2 separate regions of the Homo sapiens genome follow, and region 1 is linked to region 2. Evidence: promoter capture Hi-C in 16 types of primary human blood cells and fetal thymus (Javierre and others, 2016). All regions are on one chromosome and are shown on one strand. The core of a region is centred on a gene start or on the middle of the fragment in contact, and the rest is flanking DNA. Distances in the headings are between cores, read along the strand shown.

What was found. Contacts are between HindIII fragments. The CHiCAGO score rates a contact against its expected background, and 5 or more counts as called.
Region 1: a contact is called between the fragment with the promoter of VAMP4 here and the fragment with the promoter of CACYBP in region 2, in 2 of 17 cell types (activated CD4 T cells and total B cells). The highest score is 5.1, in activated CD4 T cells.

Annotation. Positions count from the first base shown.
Region 1 is chr1:171,740,113-171,745,282 of GRCh38, reverse strand. VAMP4 (vesicle associated membrane protein 4) reads left to right here and starts at 3,218. Exons shown (of 8, transcript NM_003762.5): 1 at 3,218-3,373. The HindIII fragment of the contact is 4,907 bases long and covers 2,049-5,170 here.
Region 2 is chr1:174,997,145-175,002,378 of GRCh38, reverse strand. It overlaps CACYBP (calcyclin binding protein), which reads right to left and starts at 2,432. Exons shown (of 6, transcript NM_014412.3): 1 at 2,184-2,432. The coding sequence starts at 2,198. It overlaps LOC105371622 (a long non-coding RNA gene), which reads left to right and starts at 2,733. Exons shown (of 2, transcript NR_188647.1): 1 at 2,733-2,784; 2 at 4,646-4,900. RefSeq lists a silencer at 2,412-2,531 and enhancers at 2,562-3,071, 2,623-3,159, 3,102-3,311. The HindIII fragment of the contact is 3,791 bases long and covers 1,844-5,234 here.

The DNA.
Region 1 (5,170 bases), core at 1,969-4,468, 3.3 Mb after region 2:
TGCATCCTGGCCCAGGACAGTAGATGTGGTTTCTAAATCAAGTGTACAGTCACCCCACTTACACAGAAGGAGCCAAATCAGTTACAAAACACTTCCATTTTATGCTACGTTACATAACTTCCGCGGTATTTTCCAGTTAATCATACCCCTGAAATCCGCATTGATTCTTTTTTGTTTTGTGAGAGGGAGTCTCATTCTGTTGACCAGGATGGAGGGCGGTGGCGCGATCTCTGCTCACTGCAACCTCCGCATCTCCAGTGCAAGCTATTCTTCTGCCTCAGCCTCCTGAGTAGCTGGTGTTACAAGTGTACACCACCACACTCAGCTAATTTTTGTAGTTTTGGTAGAGACGGGGTTTTGCCATGTTGGCCAGGCTGGTAACTCCTGACCTCAAGTGATCCACCTGCCTCAGCCTCCCAAAGTGCTGGAATTACCACATCGATTCTTAATGTGTTTACCATAAACAATCCCAGCCCTGGGACATCCTGTTAGAGGAATTCCGTAAATATGGACTCTCTTGCTAGCAAATGCCATTAGTTTGTTTGCCAGGAGGTCTGTAATTAGTATATACTTTATATTTTATAAAAATCACATGCTTTTTTGCTTGCTTTAACCTTGCTTTCCTGAGAGTATTTCCCTACGAAGGGAGAGACTGGATTGCAGATCTTCTGCTCAACTCCTTCTTTCTCAGTCACTGATAGATGAAAAATGGTATTTCCTTGTTCACTTTTACATTTTAAGTAATGTTGAACATTTAGCAACAAAATATTGAAAGCTAGAAGGGAGATGAATCAAGATGCAATTGCCTTAGCAGACTTGAAAAGTAGGAATCCCAAGCAGGCCATGAAGCAACCTGATACACACAGTGAAACCCTGTATAAGGCTCAGGAATTGGAAACACCACGTAAAGCTGAAGAGAGCATGATGTGAGCTATAAATACAGGCGGAATGGTATAAAGTCTGTTTAAGAATGAATCAGATGCTGAGATTCCCTTTGCTATCCCATCAAAAACCCAGAGATTTAGTCCTGAAAGACAGCAAAACGCTGATTCTCTAGCTAGGAGGACAGCAGGCCCTCTTAAGGATGAAGGTGTCATGTTGAAAAAGGGGAAAAGAAAATTAGAGGACTAACATCTGAATAACTGAAGCTCACTAAAAAGAAAATGGAGGAAATAAGTAACTCAAGTTGCTTGGAGTTCTGACTCTAAGCTCAGTGCTATTATAATCTTTTAGGCTTACTGGTATATTTGATTCATGTTAACTGTAAAATGACATTTTCTAAGTTTCACAAATATTGGGGTTAGTCAAAGGGACTTTGTTCAGGTGATTAAGGGTGGGGCTTGCATTACCCCTCTCCTAAGCGATCATTCCAAAATGACTGGCAGGACTAAAGAATTATGTTTAAAAAACAAAAAAACCCAAAGAATGGATTATCTGTAAAAGCTATGCAATGACGTGCCTGTTAGAGCTCACTGACCACACCTTAAGTTGTCTAAGAGATGAGGCTATAACTAGCTAAACTCTAATTGGCTAAGGCACCAAAGCCAGAAAATAGCCCATAACATGCAAATATACAGACATAAAATCAACTGTAAGTGCTGGGCACAGCTGCTCATGCCTGTAATCCCAGCTACTTGGGAGGCAGAGGCAGGAAGATCACTTTAGCTCAGGAGTTCAGAGCTGCTGTGCGCTATGATTGTGTCACTGCACTCCAGCCTGGGGGAAGAAGTGAGACTTCATCTCAAAAAAAAAAAAAAGATCAGCTGTAGAAGAAAAAATAATGTCAGGGTTACCTGTGGAGTCTGGGGGTAGACCCACTATCACACCTAGACAGGGATACAAACCATGAGAGGCTTCTCTTCTAAGTGGGCCGTTTCAGTCCAAGTTGCTGACTTGGACAGCAACTTGGACTGAATAAACACAGGCAACTGAGTTTAGCATTAAGCTTTCAGAACCTTCAACTGACAACTCAACGGCTGTTTCTAAATCTCAGAACATTTAAATCAGAATCTAGGTAGCACGTGGGCACCTACGTAGTTTTAAAAGCTTTCCAAGTGATTCAACTCCAAGTGAATCAGAGTGGAGCATCGTTGCCTTAGTCATGGCATCTTTCAAATTCGTTAGTACATTTTTACATAAAAATAAACATCAAACAAAAGAAGAACAACTTTTTGGTAAGAGGGTGTCTATTCTTTCCTTTCCTTTAGTGTCCGCAGATCTTTCCTCCTGCTGTTTTCTTGTCTACTCTTGTTCTTGAACACCCCCTCTTATTTTTATGTCTTTAGAAAGTGCCTGGCACAGTATTTCAGACAGTTAAAATACTGTATCAACAAAGGACCCATAGATACTGTATTAATTTTAAAAGATGTGTAGTGAATATGATTCAATGAGTAAAATAATCCAGCTGGGGCGTGGGAGGAACGGATAATAAAACAAATAAGAGAACGGAAAAACAAAATTAGGAATTGTTTCTGGTAGACAGCTACTGCGGGCGTGGAGATCTAAACATGATACCAAATTGGGCGGAGGGGGAGGGAGTGAGGAAGGAATGGGCAGAGTGGCGGAATGGCCTGGCGAGGGCGATTTCCTGAAGGCTTTCAGGTTACAACTAAGGGATACCGGGAAAAGAACACCGAGCCCTCGTCCCGTATCTATCTAAACTAGCCGTGTTAACTTTAAGTCAATCTCCTCTCTGAACCAGATATTCCTCCTATCTAAAGGGAGGAGCCTGGCCTTAACATCTCTTTCCAAGTCTAGCTCTAATTCTGTAAACAGGGGATCAAACAGATCTCCTTTCTTCAGAAAAGGCCCCAGACGAACCCGAAGCAGGTCCTCGAGCTGCGAGCCACTCTCCACTTGCCACTCAACGTAGTCAGCCAGAGGGACGGATGTGCCACCAAGCACCACCTTCTTTCTAACGCCTCATCACCCCAGCCACGCACTCCGGCGCGGCGCCCAGTCCCGAGCGGTTCTCGGAAGTTTCCCACTCCTCCCCTAATCGCCCTCCACGCACGCCGGATCACGACCGGAACGTGGACAACCAGTGGTTGTTCCTCCCCTAAAGCACAGCATAAATTTGGAGAGATGCATCTAAACTGCGTGTGGGTTCGGGCTCTTTTAGGTGAATAGGGCTCGGCGGATCGACTTCCTCGATTATCTCCGTGCCCTGGACCCGCCCCCTCCGCCTGGCGCCAGGCCGCCGAGCGCCGATCGGCTCGATGAGCGGAGGCGCTGCTGCGGCGCTGCGGCCGACGCCGGGTCCGCACCAACTGTCTCCCCCTCCCAGCTTCTTACCTCGGCTTCCTACTCCTTCCCCCGCCCGCCCAGCACCGCCAGCCCGGGAGAGCTGCCGGGAGTTCCCCGGGAGCCTCAGGTACTGGCGCTGGCCTGTTCGCAGCGGGAGGGGCTGGTGTGAGGAGGAAGGAAACGAAGAAGACGCCCCTGCCTTGCCGCCCCCCGACGTCCTAGTCGGGCTGGTCGGCGGGCCTCGGGGATCTAGGAAGGGACCCCGGAGTGGGAAAAGGTTGGGGCCGGGGGTGCCGTGAGGAAGGAAGACGAGGACAGGGGTATGCGGACGAGGAGCAGTTGAGGGAGAGAAGAATTGGAATTGAGGGGTACTCTGGGGTGATGGGAAGAGAACAGTACCATGGATGGGGAAGGTTTGTTAAGAGTGGGATGTAGTGAGGAATTCCAGGGGGTACAATGGGGCAGGAAGGGCCAGCGTTAGGAGCAGATATATCGTGGGACGTGGCCTGGTGTGACAGATTGGGTGTGGGGGGTGAACGGAGCTGCCTGAAATTGTGTATTTAAAGGGCCCGGGGGAAAGAGCGCCAACCCTGCTGTGTTTATAATGACCGGAAGGTGGGGGTGAATCGTTACACTTGACAGGTTTTGCAAATAATATCTCCGGTCTGTGTCCATCCAAGTCACTTTATTTCTGTGAAACTGCATCAAGCAAGAAGGCTGATGACAGACAAGGAAGACGAATCAGAAAGAGAATGGAGGCTGGGAAAAGGAGAGCCTTTGCCCAGATTCAAAGCTATTGACTAGATAACGTACTACTTACAAAAACGCACACATAGACATTTAAGTATATGCTGATGTATAAGAAGCATACGGTGATGTGACTCATTTGAGTGAATTGTATAGTGGTGGTCTATCCTCAATGTGGAAGTACATGATGGCTCTCTTATTTACATGTATACCTAGTCACAAACAGCTGAATTCACATGTCTTTTTTTGTAGGAGAAATCTTAGGCAGACTATATCCTAGTCTACTTTCTGAGCATGATTTATTTCTACTAGTTGTTTGATACACATATCAGTTACTAATAATCAGTTGCAAATAACATCAAAGTTCATCAAGGTAGCTAATTAATCTGCCTACTGCTTTGCTGATGGGCTATTTGTTGCACATGGTTTCTTGGGATTAAGAGACCTGAATATGGTGTTTGCTCATCCTTAAGATTGTAGTTTTACTGTATGTCTTATAAAGGCATTATATAAGTCTGCCCGTTGTTTGCTTTGGGATGTTGAGGCAGCCTCATTGCAGGGGTTAAAATCTAAATACAGATAATAGTTAAAAGCACAAGTTCTTCAGTAATTTGCCTTGTCATCTGTTTTTCCATGCATTCTGTTACATTTCTGCATGAATGAAGTATTCTGACATCAAAGTATGAGGAATAAAAGGGCCAGATGTATGTGACAGAAATATTGTGGAACCAAGAACTCAAGAGCTGTTACTCAGGCAGCAAGAATTTGGTTTTTGTTACAAGTGAATAATTTCTGATTTGGAAGCATTTCTTATCAAAGAAAAGTGTGTCCTTTGGTTTTGACAAGCAGCTGACTTAAAACATTACTTTTATTTGGTTCGTGAAGCCAGATCCTGGGATTATTCTTTTTTAAGTGTATATCATTAACAAACAAACTGATGTCTAACTATACCTAATTTAAAGGTCTAAGTGTTTCTTCTTATGGAAAAGGAAGCAGGACTATTGGGTTGTTAGCAGGAAGTGAGTCTTTCTAGAACAGAATTCTGTAAACCTGATGGGCAACTAATTGAACAAATGATTAAAACTGATAATGCACAGCCATTGATTAATTTAGGCCTGTATCTCTGCTGTTTCAATGAATGTAGTGACTAACGTTATCGTTACTAAACTTTAGTTTT
Region 2 (5,234 bases), core at 1,183-3,682:
TCATCATTGGGTAAACGCATATCAAATTCCCAAGATGCCACTTCACACCCAGTAGGATGGTATCATAAACCGAAAAAGAAAAATAAAACACCCCAGAAAATAACAAATGTTGATAATGATGTGGAGAAACTTTCAGAAGCTTCAAACATTTCTTACAGGAATATGATGCAACCACTCTGGAAACAGTCTAACAGTTTCTCAGAAAGTTACCATATGAACCAGTAATTCCACTCCTAGGTATATACCCCAGAGAACTGAAAACACATCCACACAAAAAACTTGGATACAGTACTCGCAGCAGCATTATTTATGCTAGTCACGAAGTGGAAATAAGGCCAGGCGCCATGGCTCACACCTGTAATCCCAGCACTTTCAGAGGCCGAGGCGGGCGGGCGGATCACTTGAGATCAGGAGTTCGAGACCAGCCTGGCCAACGTGGTGAAACCCCGTCGCTACTAAAAATACAAAAATTAGCCGGGCATGGTGGCGCGCGCCTGTAATCCCAGCTTCTCAGGAGGCTAAGGCAGGAGAATCCTTTGAACCCGGGAGACGGAGATTGCAGTGAGCCGAGATTGCGCCATTGCACTCCAGCCTGGGCGACAGAGCGAGACTCCGTCTCAAACAAAGAAGTGGAAATAAATGTCCATAAACGGATGAAAGGATAAACACAATGTGCCACATGCATATAATAGAATATTATTTAGCCATAAAGAGCATGTGTACTGATACACGCTACACCATGGATGAACTTGAAAATGTTAGTGCTAAGTTGAAGGAGCCAAAAAACAAAAGGCCACATACAGCGTGACTCCATTTATATGAAATGCCTACAATAGGCAAATTCACAGAAAGTACAAGATGAGTAGTTGTCAGGGGCTGAGGGAGGAATGGGAAGCAATTGTTTAAAACACACTACATGGTTTCTTTCTGGAGTGATGAAAATGTCCTGAAACTAGACAGTGGTGATGGCTGCACTACACTGTGAATATATTTAAACAAAAAACAAATACCTGAATTGTACACTTTAAAATGGTTAAAAACTTGAATTTTATCTCAAACAAAACAAAAATCAAGTGCCCTCAAATGTATATTTCTAAGTGCCTAAACTGAGAACGATCTCTACTTTCAAGAGGACTAACACTGAGCTATCCACCTGCAAGACTGTGAAGTTATCTCCTAGGGGCACATAGTACCCAAGACCTACCTTAAAAGACTTGTCACAAGATACCCAGATTAATACTGGAACACACAAACCTCATAGTTTTTCTTCATTTAAAGAAAAGATTTTGAGTTTAAAAAACAAAAACAAAACAAAACAAAAGCTTGGGACTCCCCAGTACTTGTTTTCATAAAGCAAATCTAGTTAATACACACCCAACACTTAACTGTGAATAACTGTCCCGTCTTCACCTCCCACTTACGCCAGGAAATGAGCAATACAAGTACTATCATTCCCATTTTCTAACTGAGCAAACTAAGTCTCCACAAAATTTAATTCTCCAACGTTCAGAGTTTACAGAGCTTTAACACAGGCCATTCGCTTTCTTACTATTAATTACAACTAACTTTCCAAGTTATTTATTTTAAAAATCACATACAGCAGATTGCTGTTTGCCAATCACTGACTTAAACACCTAGAAATCATATTTTTTAACAACCCTATGAAATGGATGCTACTGCGACACAGAGAAGCTAAACAACTTGCCCAGAGTAACACAGCTCCTCGTGTGTAGAGAAAACCTGACTAGGAGAATTCAAGTGCTAGCACTGAGAACTCACCTTCCAACCGCCCTCTACCAAGAACGACACTCATGTTTGCACCCAGCTTTGCTTGAATGAAGCTTCCTGTCCACTGGCTGGGAAACCAGGGCAGAAAGGGCCTGAGGAACACGCGCAAAGGGCCGCTCTCCCAGACCCACTCCCCGCACCGCCTGCACGGATAATCGCCGCACACCCCCGCTCGAGCCCAGCAGGCGAGTGGGGTGCGAGGTCGAGTGGAAGCGCTGGGGAGCCGACGGCGCAGCAAGGGGCGAGTGAGGTGTCCCCCGGGAAGGCGGCGCACTGACTGGCGCGGGACCGGGTGGCCGCAGGGCGGCTCAGCCCACGGAAACGGCGGTAGGGCGGGAGGCTGGCGCTGCAGCTCCAGCCGGGGGGCATAAGGAATATGGGGCCGGACCACTTACCTCTTCTGAAGCCATGGGGGCTGGGTCAGGCCGAAGTCCCGAGCTGCAGCCGCGCAGAAGGAGGAACAGGAAACCCCGCGCCGAGCCCTCAAACCGAGCGCAGACGCCTACCCGCACGAGTCGCGGCGCTGCAGCCTGCGCCCACACCGACCCTGCGCAAGATCGCGGCCCGCCTCCCGCACGCGACGGATCTCGAACCTTCGCGAGGCAGCCGCCGCCACCGCCCACCGCGAGCACGCACAGCCCGCCAAGCCTGGCTCCACCCACCCTTCCTCGCCTCGCCGAGCCTAGCCCCACCCCTCCCCGCCCCGCCGAGTCTGGCTCCGCCCGCCTGCCGAATCTCCTAGCAACGCTCAAGTCTCGCGAGCGAACCGGCAATCCGAGAAGAGTAATGTCTTGCTCTCCGCCCTGACAACTTTTATGTATTATAATTTGACCGCGCTGGGCCACGCTGCGCAGTCGCAGCTCGGAACCGCTGCGTTAACCCAGCCCCGGAAATAACGTACCGATCTTCGGAGTCCAAGTCGGAAGTTGACTAGAGAGTCACCTGCTTTCGTCCGCTCTAGGACACCAGACACACCAGGCCGCCATGTTGTGTAAGGTTAGTCTCTCAGCCTCCGCGAGAAGAAGGCGAAAAATGGGGAGGAGCAGCCTGGTTACTTTCAAACGAGAAAGAACGGATATGTTAAGCGTGGAGGGCTCCTAATGGTAGCGGTTTGATTTTCAGTGAGTTTGGCGCGGTGGAGACGTCACCGCGGTCTAACAGTTCCGACGTGGTGGCGTCATCACTGGCCGCCGTAGGAGGTGGAGCTACGTTGGCCTCGTGACCGGGCCCTGTAGCGGAAGCCCAGGTCAAGGCCCTAACAAAAGGGCCCGCCTATGGCCACAGTTTCAGGCCCTCCTTTCAGTCATGGACTGTTGAAGCACGATTTCCTGGTGCTTTCGCCCCTTTCACCGACCATTTCAAGAGTCCGTAGTTCTCGCCTGGGTTTGGATTCGGTATAAGTGAGCCTGTTTACCATCAAAGAAAATGGTGAAATGTCTTCTGGAGACGATGTTCTCTTCTGGTTCTAACCCTGTCACTCAGTGAGACCCCCAGAGAAGCCTAGTTTTCAGATTATTCTAGTCCTTGGCAGGCTCAAGATGTCAACAACACGGTTGGAAACAACCCCTGAGAGGTCACATAGCGCGCACTCAGCTTTACAGATCGTCCAAGGCAGCGACCCCTGAGAGGTCACATAGCGCGCACTCAGCTTTATAGATCGTCCAAGGCAGCAATTAGAATCAGCAACTCGGAGAGGAAAAAAAGCTGTTAGCGGAATGGAGGCTGACCATTATCTGTAGTAAAGAATCGGAAGTACAGTACAAAAATAAATTACCGAAACGCAACATGCGTGAATTTCACACAAAAAAATGAAGTTGAGGGAAAGAAGCCAGACATGGAAGAGTTCATATTGCGTGGTTCCATTTAAAAACTAGCCCATGGTGTTAATGAGCATAGTGGGGAGGACAATGACATGAAAGAGCCACCAGGGGGCTTTTGAGGTTCAGGTAATGTTTCTTGATTTGGACACTGATTATAGATAGGTGGGTTCACTTTAGAAATCTCATTGAGTTGTAAACGTATATTTATGTACGTAGTTTTTTCTGTAGATTATGCTTAAGGCCCGGCGAAGGGGAATTTGCCCAGGTAATGGAAATATTACACCGATACATAGAATTGTCAAAGTTCATGGGATGAACTCCTAAGAGCTGTGTATTTTATCGTATAAATTTTTTTAAGTGTCCAACCAATAGCCTGGAATTATTAAGTACATAATTAAATAAAAACAAATATCCCATGGACCTAATGCAGTGAACAGTTACCTCGTTCTCTTAATTGCTCAGGCTAAGGACTCATACCTGAGTCTTCTATCTCAGGCCTTACATCTTATATAACAAGCCTTACTGGCTTAATCTTCAAAATATGTAGCGAATTTAACGAGTTCTCACAACCTCTGCTTCTACCACCTGACGGGGTTTGGGACATGCTACCCAAAAATATGGCACCTAGACATATTGAATACTTTGAACTGAAGGAATTTGAGAAAGAACATATGCAGGAATGTCTCTAACTTTCTTGCACCTTTCTGCTCTGAAGCAGGACGTAATACCCTCATGTGAGAATTGCCCTGTCTATACCTGGAATAAAAGTAACATCTTTATCTCTGAAAACACAGGGACGTAGAGACGAATATGAACATCAGGCCTTGCTAAGTTTCCCCCAGTTTATTACCCTTAGATCACAGTCTTTTAGCCCCATCACATTTTCCCACAATTCTCCATTCTTCTTCAAACCTACTCTAAACAACACTAAGGTTAACTATTTATTCGGGTCTTCATTTCTTTATGAAGTTTCCATGTTATGTAAAACTAACATTAATATTTATGCTTTTCTCTTGTTAATTTGTCTTTTGTTACAGGATCCCCAGCCAGTGAGCCTAAAATGGGTAGAAGGAAAAGATATTTCTTACCCTACGCACCCAGGTCCAAGTCATCATTATTTTGTCTGAAATTTATCTTCCTAACTGATTTCTCTGCTTCCCCATTGTGCCTTAAGAGTTAGTTTTCCACAGAGCAGCTCGAGATATCTTTTCAGATCATTATATCCCTTTGCTTAAAAACCTCTAACAGCTTCCTATTAGGCTTAGAATAAAGTACAAACTCCTTAATGTGAACTTGAGTGTTTTACGTATCTTATCTCACCTTTATGAGCTTCATGTCAGAACCCATCTCTCACCACTCTTCCTTCCCCGCTCCCTGATTTAAACAGTCTGGCACTTTACTTATTCATTGAACCCACTGGGTTTGCTCTTGCCTCCAAGTCTGTACCCAGCTTTCTCTCTACCTGTAATCCTCTTCCTCTAGGTCATCACACAGATCGTTTCTTCACTCTATTTAGGTCTTTCAGAAGTAACACTAAGGGAGGCTTTTCCAGACAATATTATGCAAATATAAATGGACATGTGACAAATACTTTATTCGACTTATTAGTTACTGAGAGTGTATTTG